Linked DNA regions of Homo sapiens: regions 1 and 3 are each linked to region 2. The links are contacts of gene promoters, found by promoter capture Hi-C in blood cells and fetal thymus (Javierre and others, 2016). All regions are on one chromosome and are shown on one strand. Each heading gives the region's core, a stretch centred on a gene start or on the middle of the fragment in contact. The rest is flanking DNA. Distances are from core to core; before and after follow the strand shown.

Region 1 (2,700 bases), core at 21-2,520, 190 kb before region 2:
GAGTTTAGAATGCTGGATTTAAAGTAAGAGAGTCTGCTTGCTGCCTGTGACTTGGGTGAAACAATGTCAAGTGTCAAGCTGCCCTGCCTGCCTCAGTTTTTCTGTAAGAAGCAAACAAGAATCAGGGCTGGGCACGGTGGCTCACTCCTATAATCTCAGCACTTTGGGAGGCCGAGGTAGGTAGATCACTTGAGGTCAGGAGTTCGAGACCAGCCTGGCTAACATGGTGAAATCCTGTTTCTGCTAAAAGTACAAAAATTAGCTGGGCATGGTGGTGGGTGTCTGTAATCCCAGCTACTCAGGAGGCTGAGGTAGGAGAATCACTTGAACCCGGGAGGCAGAGGTTGCAGTCAGCCGAGATCACACCACTGCACTCCAGCCTGGGTGACAGAATGAGACTCCATCTCAAAAAAAAAAAAAGTAAATCAAAATGTTTATAAATTATAAAACCAGACAAATGTGTAGGATTTCTGTTATTATTACTACGGATTATTATTTTAATTCCTTTACTAGTCATTATTACCTGGGCAGTGATTGCTTTGTCCAAATCGTCCCGTTTCTTCATCAAAGCCTCCAGACTGTCTAAGGAACTTTTGTCATCTGACCTCAGGGAATTCTCACGTGCCACCATCCAGCTCTCAACTTGATCACAGTTCCCCTGGAACATCTATGAGGAATCAAATGAGAGGGGTATGGTATAGTCCATGTGGTGTGGAGGAAATGATGTTACACCTCTTTCAGGATCATGACACAAAGGGTTTTGCAAGGAGTACTTACCATCTTCCAAGAAACACTCATGTGACAAATCTTAGCTGTACTGGAACTTTTCCTCTTTTCCAAACATACACTTTATGTTTCTGTATATGCTACCTCCAATTCCTGGGGTGCTATTTCCTATTTCTTAAACCTTGTTAATACTGGCTGGTCATTTCCTTAAGACTTTGTGAAACGTTATCCTTCAGGGTAGCCTGTGACACAACCACTTACTTCCCCCAAAAGCTTTAATCACTTCTTGTTTTTTAGCCTCAAAGCACTCGTACATTTTGGTTTATTAATAATCATCTCACTGTACTAGTAAAATTTATCTATATGTCTAATTTCACTATTTAAGAAATGGGAAACTATCTTACTAATCTTTGTGGCACTCCGAGCCTCCACAGAGTAGAGTCTCAACAAAAATCAGCCAATCAATTCCTCAGTCAATCAACAAATGATAGTCAACCCACCTCATGCTCAGGACTGATCACCATCTTGTTTGGCTCTTCTAACAAGAAAGAGCAGAGAATATGACAATGATCGGTATAGAAAGCATAGTACAATGCTAGGTAATTAAGAGATGAGCTCCCTTTGTGTTTATAACGTGGAAAGTCTAGTGAACGGAGCCTGTAATGACCATATGAAATTGCATAGGAGAAACAGACTACTGAACCTGCTTAACAATTGGGAAATTTGCTGTACCTGCAACTCCAGGCACTGGTCTAGGATCTTCTTGCGTTTTTCCCAAGCCTTCTCCAAATCATCTCTCTCTAGCTTGACAGCTTGAAGCTTTTTTTCAATTTCAGGGCTAGCATGGTGCCCACTGTCGATAAGTTCTGCACTGAAGTCCTCTAAGGCCTGGAAGGTGGGAGCCTCTGCCTCCATGTCAGCACGGTGCTCCTGTGGGAAAAAGGGGGAAGAAATCAGTGAGGCCAACTCCATTGGAAATTTTAAAATTAGTAGAGGTTTCAGGTCAAGTGATCAGTGGCTGTGACTTTTGTAGTTTTACCTGATGTCTCTCCAGCAAGATCTCTATGCCAGTTAAGTCTTCGGCCAGCTCCTGTGATGATACCATGCCACCAATGCTACTGATCCAGTTCTGCAGATCCCTAGATAAACAGACACATTGGAATTGACAAGAAAACCTTGCAACTTGCTACAGTGCTGTTTGTCCTACAGTTTTCCATTCTCTAGAAAACATTTCCAGAATAACATTTTTTATCTGGCTTTATATGCTTTACAGATCTTACGTTTGCTGTTTTTATTATATCACCTAATGATAACAATCCCTTGTATTTGAAAGCCTCTTCACTTTTATTATCTTTTTCAATTCTTGCAGTAATCCTGCAGAGATTCCGGGAATTTTTTGTTTTCATTATGGAGATAAAGAAGTCACCTTAGAAAAGGTAATTAATCTGCCTATGTGGTATAACTAAAAGCAGACATCTTCAATAAAACCTAGACCTCTGGAATCCTGGACTGTTATATATTTCATTACTTCTGTTGGTTACTGTTCCTTTTAAGTGGTTTCTAGGGTTTGAAGATACATCTTATTACAGAGTCTCAAAGAAATCATGTCTTTCCTCTTACTTTTATTCTCAAGTGAATCTAGCACATATTTTGGCCAACATACACATACACACACAGGCCTCCACACTGTTGATTAAATCAAGGTCTATTTCCCTACCCTTTTAGTAGTCAGGAAGTTAGACGAGCAAAACTAAGGTCTATCTTCTTAAAAGGCAAATTTTAACTATGCATTAACTTTAAAGCATATATGGTGTATAAATTAAGCATCTCATAAAGAATGTCATTACTCTTGTTTGCTCAACAGGAACCCTTAGCTCTAGGAAAGAGAGGTCTCTTCTTTTGTAAATTTATTTATTCAAGCAACTAAGTTTTATTGGGTGCTTACTAAGTACCAAACATTGTGAAAAAGGCATA
Region 2 (2,700 bases), core at 33-2,532:
AGATGGGATTTGGGTGGGAACACAGAGCCAAACCATATCAGGGCAGAAAGCTGTCCTGAAACATGGTAACTCCTGTCGTGAGCTCTTTTGGTTCCCAAACACTGAAGTGGGGCACCTGATAAGGTTTCCTTGTGTTCCTCTTTACCCTTTACCTTAAGACCTGCTCGAAGCATCAGCATAAGAGAGAAACTGAAACAATGAACACCCACATGTGTTAGTGGCTGTCATTCTAGATCCTCTTGGTTTTTTCTGATTTACCCTGCTTTAGTGGGGTTTAGACAGTTTCCAAATCCAAACTTTAACTCTCTCTATGCTGCTGGTTTGGATTAAGACAATCAGCTTTATTCTTCTCTGTAGATGGCCTTGGATCATTTTCCCCTATTAGCTGTTTTGGGATCCTTTTCCAGTCATGACCACATTTTGCTTACAGATCAGCTAGTTGGTAACCACAGCACTGTCTGCTAACTGATACCATTCATTTGACAATTCAGAGTTATGATACTTTGTAGTGCACCCACTGTTCTTCACAGGAAAAAAAAATTGCAGTACAAAGGGTTTATCAGGCCCCCTATCATTCCAGAGTTTCAGTGCTGTTCCAGAATGTTCAAGGTTTCAGTCATGATATGAACCAACTATCCATAAATAATGCAAAAAGCATGAGTAATCATGAATTTAATAATCAAGGTAAGGCAGCTCAGTTATTATACTCAAGAGAGCAACTAGTATGAAACTCTTTCAAATTATTTGAATAAGGATTTACATATTCATAATGACTTTCTGCCTCTGTCAAGCTCCAGGTGTATCAGTTATTAATAACTGGGTGAATATGTAGGTACTATTTAAACAAAAACAATTTCACAGTAGACCCACCCCTATCCAAGAGATGAAGTCAAGTTCTGGTAGCAATAGACATCTCTACCAAGATCTCCTGCTCCTGCCACTCTGTGAACAGGAAAGGAGGGAGAAACTTTGGTGTTTTGCCTTTCCCAATTTATATTAAGATCCTTATTCAAGCGGCTACCGGTTTCTAATGACCTATATGTAAGTTAGCTTTATAAGAAAGTTCTGAGTTTGAAACTCCTTTCAGCAAGTATTTGTAAGTCAAAAAAGCGAAGAAGAGGCACCATTTACTGTCATTTCTCCTTGTGACTGAGATTACTTACTACAAAGAGGAACTGACCACTTTCTCTGACATCTGAAATAGAAAGCTACAAAGGCTGATAGGCGTGGCTTCAAAATTGTTTCATGATTACATAACTTCTTTCTAGTTAGGAATTAGGACAGTGTAAGAAGGCCATCTACAATCAAGATTGAGAGTGGCTCTAACAAGTGCCATTTTTCCTTGTTAGCTTTCATTTCTCAGCCCTTTACAAGATTAAAATAGTCTGCAGTTTAATCTCTCCAAAGCTTTACGGACAGTGATTCTGTCCTAAACAAGACAGTGACTCCAGGATTTCTGAAGACTATTGTGGAAGAAGCATCCATTAAGGTGAGATTTCTGGGAAGTTCTTTAGAGAAAGATCTAGGTATCTAGTTGGTAACCACACCATCTCAGTAGAGAATAATTGCCTGAGACCAGAAGTGTTGTTATCAATCATATTCAGAAAACTGAGAACTGAATGCTTTAACTGTCTAGGTAGCAAATGGATATCTTTTATTCTACCACAATTGGGGTATGAACCAAAAAAATGTATTTTGTCTACAGCAGGTTTTAAAAATTAATTCTTGGGTGTCTTTTGGCATAAATTGATATTTAGAGGAGATACTTGGTTTTCTTGGCTGGAGGATGACTTGGTGACTGGGTTTGGGCCTAAGTTAAAAGACAAGACAGTCAGATAAGAAAATTATTATGAAGTAATATTTAGTAAAAAATAAACCAGGATATAAATCTCTATTATATGATTTTATCTCTATTTTAAAAAGCATAGACATGTGCACACATTAATTTCTCAATTTTACAAGCATTTACTCAAAAATAATCTTTACATTTTCATGAATCAGTTTCATTTTATGCTTCATTTTACAACAAGTGTAAGAAGAAATAATTCTCTTTTTCAAATGGTCTATGCTTTACTCAGTCATAGATAACATTTTTTGTGGCAAGGTATAATGAAAAGACAGGGAGAATCAATTATATATTTCCTACTTTGGGATACATTTTGACTTTTTTATGGCTTTGTACATATGAATGTTTTCTAATTACTCCATGAGTACTTGAGAAGAGTTTATAAACGTTGGATTCCAAATTCTATTTAAGTAAGATAAAGTTTCTTAAGTAAGCTTGTTAATTATGTTTGAAAAATCTAAATCTAAATCTAAGCTATTTTTTACCTTGTTCTTTCAGTAACTGAGAGATGTGGTGAAATCTCCAACTCTAATAGTGATTTTGTTAATTTCTCATTGTAGTTCTTTTGATTTCTACCATATATTTTTACATAGAATATGTATATCTAAGTATATATGTTATGTGTGTGTTTAGAGAGAAGAAAAAACTTCTATATGCTACTTTATAAAGTAATAACAGATTATATTTATAATATAATTTAAATTATTATATCTTTTTCCAAGTTGCATACTTTACCATTATGTAGTGAAACTATGTACTGATACTTATTGACTTAAGCCTATTTTAAGCTACACTATTTTTCCTAAAAAGTCTTTCTTTAAGTTAGAGTTTGAAGAATATAACTTTTCCAGCTC
Region 3 (2,700 bases), core at 4-2,503, 190 kb after region 2:
TTCCACTCAATCTCTCCAGCAGGCAGTTATTTCTTCATGTTTCCCATCAAGTTTCAGATTTACCAAATTGTATGATAATTGATCATCTTATTGATGCTCAAAGCAATGCACCAAACACATGAGTAAACATAATGTAAATATATATAACATAAATGTGATACCTTCATTCTAGTAGAGTGGAGTGTCAACGTGAGAATCAGGTAAGTACTTTGTCCATGTGTATAAAAACCTAGTTTCTCTAATCCCAAGTCAGCACATCCCATAACAGAAATAATTAGAGAAATAATGTGTATAACATTCTCCTCTTTCTTCGTTTAATGAAACCATCTATGCCCATCTCTTAAACTGGCGAGAGATGGGCAGCAACCTCTCAAGTTTCCAAGAAACATCTTCTTAGGAATAATAAAACTACTATCCAATAATGAAAATGTGCTCTACTTCATTTGGCACTGAAAACGAATAACAGGAAAATCAAACCACTTTCAGAAAAGAAAAAAATCAACCAAAGAAAAGGCTGGACCCAAAGGGAGTAAGGTGTCCGAGGAACAGACTCAGCCTCCCTCTCCTGCAGGAGCCGGCATGTCCACAGCCATGGGCCGTTCCCCATCTCCCAAGACCTCATTGTCAGCTCCACCCAACAGTTCTTCAACTGAGGTACACTCTTCCTGGTCCCATTTTGCTTTGTTTTTTTCAACCCAAAGTAAAGGACTGATTTCACCGGTTACTTAAAAATTGCATCGATAATTTGCTAGTTAATCCAATGTACATATTGAGAAACCACTACATTTTGATCTTTTGCTTTCACAGGGATACTTGATGAACTTGACATTATCTCTGACTGCAGGAAGTTTTCTGTTCTGTGTTGTTTGGGGAAGGGAGAGAGAGCTATGCAGTACAGAACTGTCAGCTGTGGGCTCACTGTCTACTGCTCCCATGTCCTTCATACCTCTTCCCTTGGTTCACTATAGTATTCCATGTCAGACCTCTCCAGCACCTGCTAGTTTGTGAATGAGGTTATCCATACCCTCAGCTCTTTTTCTTGTAGATTAAACAACCTCCCCTGCATTAAAACTGTTCTATCGCAGTTTAAGGAGACTGGGATGTTAAAGAGTAAAGATGTTAAAGAAAACCCTTTCTGAGCCCCAGGTTTCTGTTAGCATGCTACCTGCTAGAGCCCTGACACTGAGAAAGGCTATGGTGGTGGGAATGACACTCTGTAGAGTTTCTGCAGCCTGAACCTACTGAGATGATGGCATTCTGAGGGGTTTATCCTACTTGTGTTCTCACCTGCTGTAAGCAAACTGAATCTTGGGTAGGAACACTATGAAATGTGCTCTTTAAATTGCCCTGTCTACACTGGTGATAACTGAACACTCTTTGTGTCTATAGTTTGTGGTGGGCACCATTTTTCATTTTTTTTTTATTTTTATTTTTTTTTAGTATTTATTGATCATTTTAAATGTCATTTAACTTTGTCTATTTTTAGGCTCTGGCACTTTAAGCTGGTAAGAGAAATAGTATAAGAAATTATTTCATTCTAAAATTTATTTATTTATTTATTGTTGTTGTTGTTGTTGTTGAGACAGAGTCTCGCTCTGTCACCCAGGCTGAAGTGCCGTGGCATAATCTCGGCTCACTGCAGCCTCCACCTCCCGGGTTCAAGTGATTCTCCTGCCTCAGCCTCCCAGGTAGCTGGGATTACAAGCGCCTGCCACTACACTCAGCTGATTTTTGTACTTTTAGTAGTGCCAGGGTTTCACCATGTTGGCCAGGCTGGTCTCAAACTCCTGATCTCAGGTGATCCACCCGCCTCGGCGTTTCAAAGTGCTGAGATTACAGGTGTGAGCCACCGCGCCTGGCCCTAAAATTTATTAAGTTACTTCATGACACTGGCTTTCAGTATCCACTGGTCTTATGTTGCTCTTATGCTTTATTTCTTAAGGTTGATTCTGTTTACAGAAAGGTCATCTTTTCACTATATGGTCTCCTCTGTTACTTCATCTTGCTATTGTACCAGTTTAAGATATCTTCTGCCCTGGCTCGCAATCCCTCTCTATCCTGACTCCAGCTCTAAACATCTGTGCAAGTTTTGGGGCCCTGTGTTATACTGAGGTCACTGAATAGCAGTTCTGTATTTCTCAATTAGACATTTTTCTTTGTTCTCCTGTGCTATCATACACAGAACCCGAAAACAGTGGCCAAATGTCAGGTAACTCCCAGAAGAAATGTTCTCCAAAAACGCCCAGTGATAGTGAAGGTACTGAGTACAACAAAGCCATTTGAATATGAGACCCCAGAAATGGAGAAAAAAATAATGTTTCATGCTACAGTGGCTACACAGACACAGTTCTTCCATGTGAAGGTTTTAAACACCAGCTTGAAGGAGAAATTCAATGGAAAGAAAATCATCATCATATCAGATTATTTGGAATATGATAGTCTCCTAGAGGTCAATGAAGAATCTACTGTATCTGAAGCTGGTCCTAACCAAACGTTTGAGGTTCCAAATAAAATCATCAACAGAGCAAAGGAAACTCTGAAGATTGATATTCTTCACAAACAAGCTTCAGGAAATATTGTATATGGGGTATTTATGCTACATAAGGTAAGTCCTCAAAATTGTTTCGTTTCATTTTTCCACCAACACCTGAAATTAAAAGTCTTGATGTGTGAGATGAAGCTTTGCCTATAAACTGGATA

The links. Contacts are between HindIII fragments. The CHiCAGO score rates a contact against its expected background, and 5 or more counts as called.
Region 1: a contact is called between a fragment that was not itself captured here and the fragment with the promoter of MNDA in region 2, in 1 of 17 cell types (M1 macrophages). The highest score is 6.6, in M1 macrophages.
Region 3: a contact is called between a fragment that was not itself captured here and the fragment with the promoter of MNDA in region 2, in 1 of 17 cell types (neutrophils). The highest score is 6.4, in neutrophils.

What each region holds. Positions count from the first base shown.
Region 1 is chr1:158,643,730-158,646,429 of GRCh38, forward strand. SPTA1 (spectrin alpha, erythrocytic 1) reads right to left here. Exons shown (of 52, transcript NM_003126.4): 28 at 1,766-1,865; 29 at 1,459-1,656; 30 at 524-667. Among named protein-coding and RNA genes, the nearest start is that of OR10Z1, 40 kb to the left of the region's middle. The HindIII fragment of the contact is 546 bases long and covers 998-1,543 here.
Region 2 is chr1:158,830,069-158,832,768 of GRCh38, forward strand. MNDA (myeloid cell nuclear differentiation antigen) reads left to right here and starts at 1,283. Exons shown (of 7, transcript NM_002432.3): 1 at 1,283-1,489. It also overlaps a transcript of OR6N1 not described here. The HindIII fragment of the contact is 3,002 bases long and covers 1-1,405 here.
Region 3 is chr1:159,016,047-159,018,746 of GRCh38, forward strand. IFI16 (interferon gamma inducible protein 16) reads left to right here. Exons shown (of 12, transcript NM_001376587.1): 4 at 487-654; 5 at 2,183-2,605. Among named protein-coding and RNA genes, the nearest start is that of IFI16, 7.5 kb to the left of the region's middle. RefSeq lists an enhancer at 1-170. The HindIII fragment of the contact is 2,618 bases long and covers 1-2,562 here.